Linked DNA regions of Homo sapiens: regions 2 and 3 are each linked to region 1. The links are contacts of gene promoters, found by promoter capture Hi-C in human tissues and cell types (Jung and others, 2019). All regions are on one chromosome and are shown on one strand. The core of a region is centred on a gene start or on the middle of the fragment in contact, and the rest is flanking DNA. Distances in the headings are between cores, read along the strand shown.

The links. Contacts are between HindIII fragments. The study calls those that stand out against the background at their distance.
Region 2: a fragment that was not itself captured here is called in contact with the fragment with the promoter of KANSL2 in region 1 in 1 of the 25 tissues and cell types used here (dorsolateral prefrontal cortex).
Region 3: a contact is called between a fragment that was not itself captured here and the fragment with the promoter of KANSL2 in region 1, in 1 of the 25 tissues and cell types used here (hippocampus).

The regions. Positions count from the first base shown.
Region 1 is chr12:48,679,710-48,683,974 of GRCh38, forward strand. It overlaps KANSL2 (KAT8 regulatory NSL complex subunit 2), which reads right to left and starts at 2,529. Exons shown (of 10, transcript NM_017822.4): 1 at 2,478-2,529; 2 at 1,673-1,932; 3 at 1-124. The coding sequence starts at 1,923. RefSeq lists an enhancer at 2,227-2,496 and silencers at 2,577-2,786, 2,827-2,876. The HindIII fragment of the contact is 9,488 bases long and covers 1-4,265 here.
Region 2 is chr12:48,164,399-48,168,601 of GRCh38, forward strand. No RefSeq gene overlaps it. Among named protein-coding and RNA genes, the nearest start is that of ASB8, 9.0 kb to the left of the region's middle. RefSeq lists silencers at 668-962, 728-1,022. The HindIII fragment of the contact is 4,714 bases long and covers 1-4,203 here.
Region 3 is chr12:48,083,950-48,088,400 of GRCh38, forward strand. All of the region lies in intron 5 of SENP1 (SUMO specific peptidase 1), which reads right to left. LOC101927180 (V-type proton ATPase subunit F-like) reads left to right here and starts at 505. Exons shown (of 1, transcript XM_047429952.1): 1 at 505-3,224. The coding sequence starts at 1,113. The coding sequence ends at 1,472. The HindIII fragment of the contact is 5,780 bases long and covers 1-4,451 here.

The DNA.
Region 1 (4,265 bases), core at 1,279-3,778:
TGTCTTAGCATATGAGCTCAGCTGGCACAGGAGTGTTTCACCCACAGGCCCTGGGTTGGTCTTCTTCATTTGAGCATGAAGTGCCAGGGCATTCCTACGGACATGTTCAGCACAGAAGGACACCCTGAAGAGACAAAACATTAATATTTTATAAGTTCCTTCTTGAAAGCGTTCAATAATGTTCACAGTCCCTAATCTTTAAATCATTTTTAGGGAATTAAAATGACTATTACATTCATTTCTAAAAATGCAAGTCAGAGGAATTTAACTGGCCCAAGGTCAACTCATTTGACTTTATTAAAGGGAAATAACAGGACGGATGAAGTGGTTCACCCTTGTAATCCCAGCACTTTGGGAGGCTGAGGCAAGGGATTGGGTCTTGCTCTGTTGCCCAGGCTAAAGTGCAGTGGTGCAATCATAGTTCACTGTAGCCTTAAACTGCTTGGTTCAAGCGATCCTCCTGCCTCAGCCTCAAAGTAGCTAGAACTATAGGCATGCACCACTGTGCCCAGCAAATTTTTTTTAGTTTTTTGTAGAAACGAAGTCTATGTTGCCAAGTCTGGTCTGGAACTCCCAGGCTCAAGTGATCCTCCCACCTCAGCCTCCCAAGTAGTGGGGACTACATGTCCACGCCACTATGCCCAGCGAGTTTTTTAATCTTCTGTAGAGACGGGGTCTCACTGTATTGCCTGGGTTGGTCTCCAACTCCTGGCCTCAAGTGATCCTCCTCCCGTGGCCTCCCAAAGTGCTGGGATTACAGGCATGAGCCACTGCGACCAGCCAGGGACACAATTTTAAAACTATAAGATACGTAAAAAATTATCTAGTCAGGTTATGTTTTTGCATGGATACCTTTGCATACATGATGAAAACTATGAAGCCTCTTACAGAAGAATACACACATATATAACTTTGCATGTTATTTAACAAAATTCATGGACAGCCAAATAGAGCCACACACCCCTCCATTAAGAAGAATTTTAGGGGCCAGGTGCGGTGGCTCACTCCTGTAATCCCAACACTCTGGGAGGCCGAGGCGGATGGATCACCTGAGGTCAGCAGTTCAAAACAAGCCTGGCCAACATGGTGAAACCCCGTCTCTACTAAAAAGTACAAAAATTAGCCGGGCATAGTGGCGCACGCCTTAAGTCCCAACTACTTAGGAGGCAGGAGAATCGCTTGAACCTGGAAGGAGGAGGTTGCAGTGAGCCGAGATCTCCACTGCACTCCAGCCTGGGGAATAAAGCAAGAATCTGTGCGCCGCCCCCCCGCCAAAAAATTAACTTTAGGGCCGGGCGCGGTCGCTCACGCCTGTAATCCCAGCACTCTGGGAGGCCGAGATGGGAGGATACCTTGAGGCCAGGAGTTTGAGACCGGCCTGGTCAAAATAGCAAGACCCCATCTCTCTTAAAAAAAAAAAAAAAAAAAAAAAGACTAATTTAGAATATGCCTTTATTTTACAGATAAGGGAAAAGAACCAAAGAGGTGAACTAAGTAATCCAACTCAAGGGTCTTTCCAGTCTTCACCGTTTTTTCAGTTTTCCAAGGATACAACCATAACCCCAAATTTACAAGGACAAAATCTCAAACGCGGCAGCTATGCTGAAGCCCGCATCATATCACATACCCCCTCGCTTTAAGAAAAACGACATATATATCTATACATATATACCCATCTTTCTTCTCTGGCTTTGGGGCAGCATTGGGACATCTTTTTCCATTCTTCGTCGATATATAACTACACTGCTTGAAGGGTGCATTCTTGTCTTCAAGGATATGCTTAATGCAAAACTCCTGCCCCTCCAGACGAGGGTGAGAGCATGGACGATGAGTGAATGCACAAGACAGAGGTTCCTGAGACCTGGGCACTGGAGTGATCCTCCCCCGATTGGTTGGCAAGACGTGAATCCGAATCCTGTTCATAACCAAAACCTGCGGGGTCAAACGAAAGACCAAAAAGCCCTTACCCTTCCCGAAAATTCCTGCTCCACACAGATCGCGCGGACAGTTTCCAAAGGACATGCAGAAGTCGTCCCCGTAAGGTACGCTCCGTAAGTCCCCGCCGCCCTCCCCAAGTCTCCACAGGCATCTGTGGCTTTGCCTCCCTTTAGCGTGTCCCTCCATGCCCGGCCCCACCCCGAACCACACCACGCTGAATGTATCTTCAGGACTCGCACAGCTGCAGCACGAAGGGAAGCGACAACACCAGCCCCACGCGGCGGCCACGCCGCCTCCCCGCACGCCGCCTTTGTCCCGGCCTGCCTCAGAGCGCACGACTGGGCCTGGCCTCGGAAGCCTATGCGAGCGCCATTTTGTCCTACGGCTCCAGTCACCGGAGATCCTGGCTCCTGGAAGCCTGCAGGAAGGAGACTGACTCTGACACTGCTTTGAGGCGGAGTAGCAGCTCTGAGCTGACAAAAAGAGCGAAATAGCAGCCCAACCGCAAGAGCTTAGAGGAAAGAGCACCGCCATCTTACCTCAGGAGCTGCGCTGCGCCGCACTCTGCCGCGCCGCTCGCCCTTCTCTAGTGGCGCCAGCGGCTCTCAGATCGGCCTCGCCCCTTTCCGGACTCCTGGCTACTCATTGGCTACCGCTCGTATGACAGGATGTCGCCATTGGCCGAGACCAACTACCTATCGTGTCTGGGAGGGCGGAGCGCTGAGAAAATGCGAGGTTGGGGTGGCTAAGACAGACTGTCTGTCAGCAACTCCGCCCGGAGGAGAGTGAGCCGGGGAAGGGGGCGGAGAGCGGGCTGCGGGGCGGGTTGCCAGCTAATATTTTTCCACCTTGCAGCGTGGCTCGTTTTCCGGCTACTTTTGGACCCTCAGTCTGTGGTCCTAGGCTGCTGTTCCCTCACCACTGTACACAGCTAGTATAAAATCAGACAGACAGGCCGGGCGCGGTGGCTCACGCCTGTAATCCCAACACTTTGGGAGGCTGAGGCTGGCAGATCACCTGAGGTCGGGAGCTCGAGTCCAGCCTGAGCAACATGGAGAAACGCCGTCTCTACTAAAAATACAAAATTAGCCGGGCGTGGTGGTGCACGCCTGTAATTCCAGCTACTCGGGAGGCTGAGACAGGAGAATCTCTTGAACCTGGGAGGCGGAGATTGCGGTGAGCCGATATCGCGCCATTGCACTCCAGCCTGGGCAACAAGAGCGAAACTCCGTCTCAAAAAAATATATAAATAAAAAATAAATCAGACAGAGGCTGGAGGATCACTGTTTACACATAAAAAGTCTTTAGCTTTCTTTTGTGAACAGTTCAATACATGTACTGAACATTTGGTATAGAGAACACTGAGAAACATTTTTTGGGTGTTTACTGATTCTGGGAATTACATGTATAAAGTCATTGAATTTTTCAAAGCAACCCTAAGAGGTACAGGTTAGTATTATGTCCATTTTACAGATAAGAGGACTGAGGAACAGAATGGGACCATAGCTATTAAATGGGAAAGGAAGACGAATTTGAACCCAGCCCGCATTCTTTATCCCTTATTGCCTCTTATATAGTAAAGAGCATTGGACTGAGAATAAGGAAATATTTGTTCTAGTTTAGGGCTGCTTCTCATAACTGTGTGCCCTGTCTTTAAAATTCCATGCTAAATAATGCAGGTATCATAAAAATGACAGACACAATACCAATCATACCATCCTTTAAGGATTTTTAGTTTAAAAGCATCTTTCTGTCATCTCCACCACTTGTAGAAATGATTCCTAGCTTTCTTCCCATAACCCTTCTAGACATTTTTTGCTTTCCAGCATCTCTTATCTCCTCACTGTCAGTTTAAGAAAGATGTTTTATCCATGCCTAACGAGCAAGTGAGCATGAGTCCCAGTGGAAGTGAACATAAAGATTCCACAGCCCTCAAGAAAAACACTAAGGCTGGGCGTCATGGTTCACCACTGTAATCCCAGCACTTTGAAAAGCTGAGGTGGGAAGATCACCTGAGCTCAGGAGTTCGATCCCAGCCTGGGCAATATGGAGACACCTCATCTCAAATAAATAAATAAATAAATAAATAAATAAATAAATAAATACACTATAGGACCGATAAATTATTAAAAAAAAAAAAAAACCTTGGGGGTTGTGCTGTTTCCAGAGACTAGAGCAGCCCTAGAAGAAGGCCTGAAATTCATTCATTCAACGAATATTTATTGAGCACCTAAGTGCCAGGAGAGAACAAGGAAGATAACCCTGCTCTCTTGGAGTGAACATTCTAGGATAGCTTTGGATTATGGATGCAATACAAACATAATATT
Region 2 (4,203 bases), core at 740-3,239, 520 kb before region 1:
ATAAATACAATGGAATTGAACTAAAATGAACAGATCTCCCAAAAATGGGAATAGTGGAGTGCCTCTATGTCCTAGTCCCTGACGTAGAAAAATTGAAAAGGAAGCTTTGGAACTAGAGCAAAGAAAAAGAAAGTTCAGAGGAAACATAATGTAAGTCTCATGAAACCTTTCATATGCTTAAACCTTGTACTAGAGAAAGTAATTCAGCAAAGAAAAGAACAGTATTAATGTGCAGCAGGGATACTCTCCCAAGACATGCCATCAGGATTAAACAAGGACTTCTTTCAGAAACTGCTCAGAGGCAGACATGCGCTCAATAGCCAAACTCTACTCTTTTTTTTTTTTCCTTTTAACTTTCCCCAGGGCTTGGGAAATTTTATGAATTATCTATTTTTTAAAAATTGGCTTTTAATCAATATTTTGTTATTATTTTTGGTCATATAGTCTACCAATATTTTCCACTATCAGAGCAATTATAAAACATTTTCAGTCTTCATAGAGAAAAATTGCCTGAAGGATTTTGAAAAAAAAAGTACAGTAAAAATACAAATAACAATTTTAATGATAATACTGAAATTATATATATATATGATACTATTTTTCCAAGAATGTAGGCATTTATAGCTAAATTACCTAGCAAATCAAGACTGAAGGGGACAAACTGGTAGGAGAGTTAATGTCGTCCAGGGGAGGGAAATTACAGAGGAAATGACTACTTGCTTGGTACAATTGGGTGGTCCAGATTAATCTGGAGAGTTCTATGAGCAAGACAAAGAGAAAAGAAAGGAAAAGAAAAAAGATCTGGTTCTCTGAATCCATTTGAGAAGCAAATTACAATCAATGTCAGAATTTTCTGCTCACCTGGGTCTATGCTATTTCTAATGGGAGTGTGTCTCCCCCTGGAGGGCAAGTAGAGCATTTGCTCCTTCTTGCTTCTTGCCCAAAGTTGAATGATTCGTTCTTGGTTCATTCATTGAGTCTTTGATTATATCATTAATTGGTTGATTGATTAATTCACCCATTAATTCAACAAATACTTATTAAGTTCTGTCACTGTGCTGTTTGTTGTGATAGACACTAAAGATCCAGCCAGCTAAGATCAAGAGAAATATGGTCCTGATCACTAGGAAAATTACAGTTTGATGTGAGAAACAAATATTAGATAGTCACCTGTATGCCTAAATAGTCACAATAGTGATGACTTCTGTAAAGGAAAAGTGCAATGGACTGACTATTTATGTCATCTCAAAGTTCATATGTTGAAATCCTAACCACCCCCCAAGGTGACAGTATTAAGAGGTGGGGCCTTCATGAAGGAGGTTATTAGGTCATAGGAGCACAGTCCTCGTGATGAGACTAGTGCCCTTCTAAAAGAGGGAACTTTGCCCCTTCCACCATATGAGGACACAGTGAGAAAGTTCTATCTATGAGCAAGTGGGGCCTCACCAGACACCAACATCTGGGATTTCTTGGACTTCCCAGCCTCCAGAGCTGTGAGAAATAAATTTCTGTTGTTTACAAGACACCCAGTTTACAGTACTTTTGTTATAGTGCCCAAATAAACAAAGAGAAATAGTAGAGAGGGTAATAGGATGATTCAGTAGAGGACCTAATTCAGGCTGGGAGGTCAAGAAAAGCTTCCCTGAGCATAGACCTGGAAGATGGGTGGAAACAACCAGGTCAAAGGTGTGGAGGTGTGGGGAGGGGGCCTCCCAGCCAATGGAGCAGGGTCAGGGTATTCAAAGACCCTAAGGAGGAAAGAGCTTAGGAACCTGGAAGACAAGGAAGAGGCCAGAATGAGAAGACAAGAAGCTGGAAAGGTAGGGAGGCTCCAGATCAGGTGCGGTCTTGGGGGACATGTTAAGGATTCTGAACTGTATCCCAAAAGAACAAGAAGCCTATCAACAGGTTTTATTCAAGTGACATGACCACATGTGTGTTTTTAAAGGACCACTTTGACTTTTTAAAGAAGAATGGATTATAGTGGAGCCAAGGCAAGGATTAAAATAGAGAAAACAGCAGCCTAAGTGATCTGGACAAAAAGTCAAGCAGGCTTAGATTTGAGTGGTGGCCATAGAAAGGGAGAGAAGGGGGTGAATTTGAAATATTTTAGTGTTAGGACTGATAGAACTTGGTGATTGGTTACAAGTTGGAGAAGGGTATTGTGGTCAAGAATGACTCCTAGGCTGGGCGCAGTGGCTCACACCTGTAATCCCACCACATTGTGAGGCCCAGGTGGGTGGATCATTTGAGGTCAGGAGTTCGAGACCAGCCTGGCCAACATGGTGAAACTCTGCCTCTACTGAAAATACAAAAATTAGCCGGGCGTGGTGATGAGTGCCTGTAATCCCAGCTACTCAGGAGGCTGAGGCAGGAGAATCGCTTGTACCCAGGAGGCGGAGGTTGTAGTGAGCTGAGATGGTGCCACTGCACTTCAGCCTGGGCAACAGAGAGAGAGAGACTCTGTGTATATATCTTTCTTTCTTTTTTTTTTTTTTTGAGATGGAGTCTTGCTCTGCTGCCCAGGCTAGAGTGCAGTGGCGCCATCTCAGTTCACTGCAAACTCCGCCTCCCAGGTTCAAGTGATTCTCCTGCCTCTGTCTCCCTAGTAGCTGGGATTACAGGGGCATGCCACCTCGCCCAGCTAATATTTGTATTTTTAGTAGAGACAGGGTTTTGCCATGTTGGCCAGGCTGGTCTCAAACTCCTGACCTCAGGTGATCTATCCACCTCAGCCTCCCAAAGTGCTAGGATTACAGGCATGAGCCACCATGCCTGGCCTATATATATATCTCTTTCTAAAAGTGTCCAAGATGGTTTAAAATGATATTCTTTGAAGACCCCTTATCCCAATTCAAAAATTTTTAATGACATAAATATAGCATTGAAACCAAAACCTAATAAAGATTATACAAAAGAGATAATTACAAACCAATATCATTTATGAATATCATAGGCAGAAATGCTTAAAAAAATTAGCAAATTGAATTAGACAGCACAGTATGTCATGACAAAGTAGAAACTGTTTTGGGAAGGTAAAGATGGTCCAATGTTAGGAAATTCATTAATATAATTAATATAATTATATCTAAGAAGGAAAGTCCTGTAATTATCTTCCTAGGTGCTGAAAAAGCATTTGAAAAAATTAAAGTTGAATTTCCTATAAAAGTAAGTTACAAAAGAAGAATGGGAGATAATTTTCTTAACATCATACAGCATCTTGTTTATCATCATCTTACTATTTTCATAGGAAAACACTGGAGGCATTCCTGTTAATGTCTGAAACAAGACAAGGATACCCACCATTACTGTAACATTAACACGATGTTGGAGGTATTTGCCAATGCATTTTTACAAAAGAAACCTATTGGATGTGTGAAAACTGTTGATGATATAGGTATACCTAGATAACAAAAGCAAATCAATGAATAAACTACACAAACAAAAAGATGAATCTATATGGTAGCAGAATATAAAAGCTATATACAGAAGTCAACAGGCTTCACACGTAAGATACAAGGATGAACCAGTTAGAAAATAATATGGAATCAAGAGCCAATTGGTAATAGTGACCACAATTACAAAACTCCTAGGTATAAAGGTAAAAGAAATATGTAAAGCCTATGAGGAAAACTATTAATATAATAGCTTCAGAGACATAAAACAGACCTGAAAAAAATGAAAGACATTCTAAGTGAATTTGTAAATTTAACATTATTCCAATAAAAAAGCCAAGGGTTTTTTTGTTTCACTTTGTTTTTTAGTTATACAAATTGATTCTTAAGTTCATATGGAAGAAATAACAAGAATATCCAAGAAAGTCCTGAAAAGAAGAGCAATGAGGAGGGGCCAGTCTTATCGGACATTTAAGATATTACAAAACCTTCATAATCAAACTAGTATAAAATTGGTGCATATAGACAGACACACTAATGGAACATAGTAGAAAGTCTAGGCATCAATCTAAGTACATATAAAAATTTAATGTATGTTAGACATTATAAAACAATGTGAAAAATGGACTTTAAAAATATATGCTGTTGAGACAACTGGGTACCATGTGGAAGAAGGTAACATTGGATCCATAGCTTATACTGCACATCCAAGAAAAACTCCACGTGGCTTCGTTAGCTAAACATGACTACATGGAAACTCTTCAAGTCTAGAAGAAGGCACGTGTAGATTTCTGTGTAAACTACCCAT
Region 3 (4,451 bases), core at 970-3,469, 600 kb before region 1:
CACTTAAAAGATCTTACATTGTCAAAATTATCAAACACTTAAAACTGCATTTTTAGATCCACAATCTAGAATTTATTTTGGTCAGAAACCATATAGTTTTGTGGTATGACAAAGCATAACAGATTAGATGTCTTCAAAAAACCTGGGTTCCAGGTATGCTAACAACACATACATTTTCTATTATTCCCTGTACCCCTTGTACCCAGCCTGTTGGAGGAAATTAAGATTAAATATGTAAAAATGCATAAAGGCTGAAGCCTCTCAACTAAGCTTTTAAACTGAATTTTTAAATTTCCTTAAAGACCAACAGAGGGCTCCCATCCTTCATTAAAAACAACTATTAGGCTGCGTCATTAAATTCTCCTTCTGGCCTATTTACTTCCTCTGAAGAATTTTTTGTCTCTTTATACTATCTAATGGGAAAAATTGGCAAATTGGCAAGAAGAATATTGTGAACTCAAAAACCCTGTCTTATATCTAAGGCTTACTAATTTTGAGTTTTTTTTTTTTTTTTTTTTGAGATGGAATCTTGCTCTGTCACTCAGACTGGAGGCAGTGGCACGACCTTGGCTCACAGCAACCTCCACCTCCCAGGTTCAAGTGATTCTCCCGCCTCAGCCTCCCGAATAGCTGGGATTACAGGCACCCGCCGCCACACCCAGGTGATTTTTGTATTTTTGTAGAGACAGGGTTTCACCATGTTAGCTAGGCTGATCTTGAACTCCTGACCTCAGGTAATCCGCCGGCCTCAGCTTCCCAAAGTGCTGGGATTACACATGTGAGCCACAGCACCCAGCCAATTTTGAGTTTTTTCTATGTGCTCTTTCTCATTTATCATTACCTGGAAAGTTTGAGGTACTTATTCTTAGCATAATACATTTTCTTTTTTCTTCAAGACTCAGACTAGAGAAACACAGCTGAATATTCTAAATTCAATGAAATCAACTCTTTAAAATCATTACATGTGGTCTGAATCCAAATCAGACAAGATCTAAAGAAAATCAAACAGTGCATAATTCTCTTTAAGTCTTCTTGGGTTTGTACGTGTGTTAAGAATGGGGAAATGAGAGTGGCTTCTGGTGCTCTGGGGTGAGCTCTGCCTGGCTGCAGGGATGGCGGGGAGAAGGAAGCTCATCGCAGTGATCAGAGACAAGGACACGGTGACTGGTTTCCTGCTGGGCAGCATAGGGGAGCTTAACAAGAACTGCCACCCCAATTTCCTGGTGGTGGAGAAGGATACGACCATCAATGAGATCGAAGACACTTTCCGGCAATTTCTAAACCGGGATGACACTGGCATCATCCTCATCAACCAGTACATCGCAGAGATGGTGCAGCATGCCCTGGACACCCACCAGCACTCTATCCCTACTGTCCTGGAGATCCCCTCCAAGGAGCACCCATATGAGGACGCCAAGGACTCCACCCTGCGGAGGGCCAGGGGCATGTTCACTGCCGAAGACCTGTGCTAGGGTCTTTGTGTGAGGACTCCTCACAGCCCTCAGCCCTTCCCTCATTCTCAGGCCTCTCCCCAGGCTTGCCATCAGCCTTCTTTACATTTTGAGCCTCTAATTTCCAAGTCCCTGCCCCTTCCCACTCCATTAAGAGGCTAGGTGAGGCGCTTCTAGGTTGCTGGGGCTCTGCTGTTAAAATCAAGGCTGGTTAAGGAACAGGAAGCCTGACCATCTCTCTCCACTACCTCTTCCCTGTGCTGTTACACAGTGTCATTGTTGATGTTAAATTACAGTCATATTCTTGCTTCTCTCAAAAAAAAAAAAAAAAAAAAAAAAAGAATGGGGAAATGAGCAAGGACTTAGAATTTTAGGAACAGGCTTATTTTCTTAGGATGAGTGGATGCAGCTAGGAAAAGATGGCAAGGGCAGTGCAATTGTTTGGTAAAGACATGATGGATTCTCCACAATGTCTTCTGTATTTGTGTTTCCCAGAGTATGCGTGCGCCTATGCATGTTTTTTTTAACATAAAAGATTACTCTTCTAAAGAAACAGTACAAGGGCATCCTGCAATGACAGAAAGCAAGGGTGTTACCCAAAATTCATGAGTTAAGGTCAAACAGACAGAAGCAAGCTTAAAGGGCTTCCACTAGCCAAATTTCTGAGAATGTGAGCATTAAAAGTATAACAATTATAGTGGATTACAAAATACTGAATCCATAATGACACTAAAAAAGGAACAGACAAATTCATTTGAAACATATGAAGTGTCTATTTTACAAAAACCTTGCTTTGAAAACTGGTAATGAAAAAGAAAAATCTAATCATGTATCAGGCCTTTCCCATAGGAAACACATTTCAGGGACTCTAATAGCCCCAGCTAAGGAAAAATGCAATCAGAATGCCAATTAAGAAGTGTAAAAGTGATAAAATTAGAAAAATATTATTTCATTAACTCTAATAAAACTATTATCAGGTATTAGCAAATGATATTAATTATTAGGTGATGGCTGATGTGAAATTCATCATTCATATAACGCCAAAGTAACATTATTTAGATTACATTCAAGTCACACGGGAAAAAACCTAACTGTACAATTAACCACCAGACTGTCAGTTCCTCAATCCAGAGGTCAGTCTAGCATCATGAATAATAGGAGAACCAAAACAAGATACTGTTTGTTTTTCAAATGTGATAAATGCAGCACACCTTTTAGTCACATCTAAAACCTAGCTTATAAAAAATACAGGTGATTTTTTGACAAAATAATGATACCACGAGGAAGCAACCTGCCAAATCCAAAAAGTAGAACATTATACAGAAAAGTCATGTCATTTAAAAAAAGGAGGCTGAGGCTGGGCATGGTGGCTCATGCCTATAATCCCAGGAAGGGATCGGGAGGCCAAGGAAGGCAGATCACAAGGTCTGGAGTTCGAGACTAGCCTTGCTAATATGGCGAAATGCCGTCTCTACTAAAAATACAAAAATTAGCAGGACATGGTGGCGGGCACCTGTAGTCCCAGCTACTCGGAAGGCTGAGGCAGGAGAATTGCTTGAACCTGGGAGGCGGAGGTTGCAGTGAGCCGAGATCACACCACTGCATTCCAGCCTGGCCGACAGAGCAAGGCTCCGTCTCAACAAAACAAAAAAACAAAACAAAACAAAACAAAACAAAACAAAAAAAGGCTGTTCTAGTTATAAGTGACAAAGCCAATAACTTCCAGATGCAAAACTAAACTAACTATAAAAGATACTTTTGGGTCAACTGAGAAAATTTAAATATGACTTAGGGTATAAAACAAAATTTACAAAAGAATATGTATACTATAAACTCATTTTGGAAAAAAAGTAGAGAAAAGTATGTAGAAGGATATGTACTAAGATATTACAGAGTTGATCTCAGGCTGGTGGCAATGTGATGTTTTTATTTTTTATTTTTCTTAACTATATTTTCTAAACTTTCCCAAAGTATTTGTACTACTTCTGTAATAACATTTTTTTAAAATAACAGCATGGCTTTATTGCATTAAAAAAGCCACCTGCTAAATGATGCATATAGAAAATCTTTAATGAAGACAAAATAATATCATACATTTAATAGTATACACAACATATATATCATACTATATATGAGTAAGAAAGAGTAAGAGAGAAATAGGTATAGGAAAAGGTTTGGAAGGAAACACACCAAGGAAAAGGGATTGGGATTGTGGGTAGTGGTCAAGGGATCTTCAGCTTTGCTGGTAATGTGTTGATTTCTACAATGTGAGTGTATGAGTGAATTACTGTATAATTTTTTAAAAGTTAAGTGAGGAACATGATCCCAGGGAGTATTGACACATTCCTGGAGTCCATGTGCATAAAATAATAAAAGCCATCTTGTTGGCTTCTATCAACACCATAAAGCTCAAACTTGACTAAACAGTACACTAAATAATCCCACATTCCTAAAATATACCAGGGCAGAATTTAAGTAGTCATAAATACTATTTTAAAAAAGAAATGTTTACTAATATAATAAATACTAATATAACAAAATATCTGAGGGAAAAGTTTCTAAGCCAGATTTCATCTGCCTTTAATAATCCATGTAAGTTTTGTTAGATAGAGCTTATAAAGTTGGAATAACTAGCATAAAGTTCTCTGTGACTATCTTTTTTTTTTTTTCTGAGACGAGGTCACTCTGTCACCCAGGCTGGAGCTATAGCAGCATGATCTCAGCTCACTGCAACCTCTGCCTCCCAGGTTCAAGTGATTCTCCTGCCTCAGCCTCTCAAGTAGCTGGGACTACAGGCACACACCACCATGCCTGGCTAATTTTTTTGTATTTTTAGTGGAGACAGGGTTTCACCATGTTGGCCAGGCTAGTCTGGAACTCCTGACCTCAGGTGATCCACCTGCTTCAGCCTCCCAAATTGCTAAGATTACAGGCACGAGTCACCGTGCCCGGTCTGTGACTCTTTATTTTCTAATATATAGAAGTAGCTTGGTCTACTTG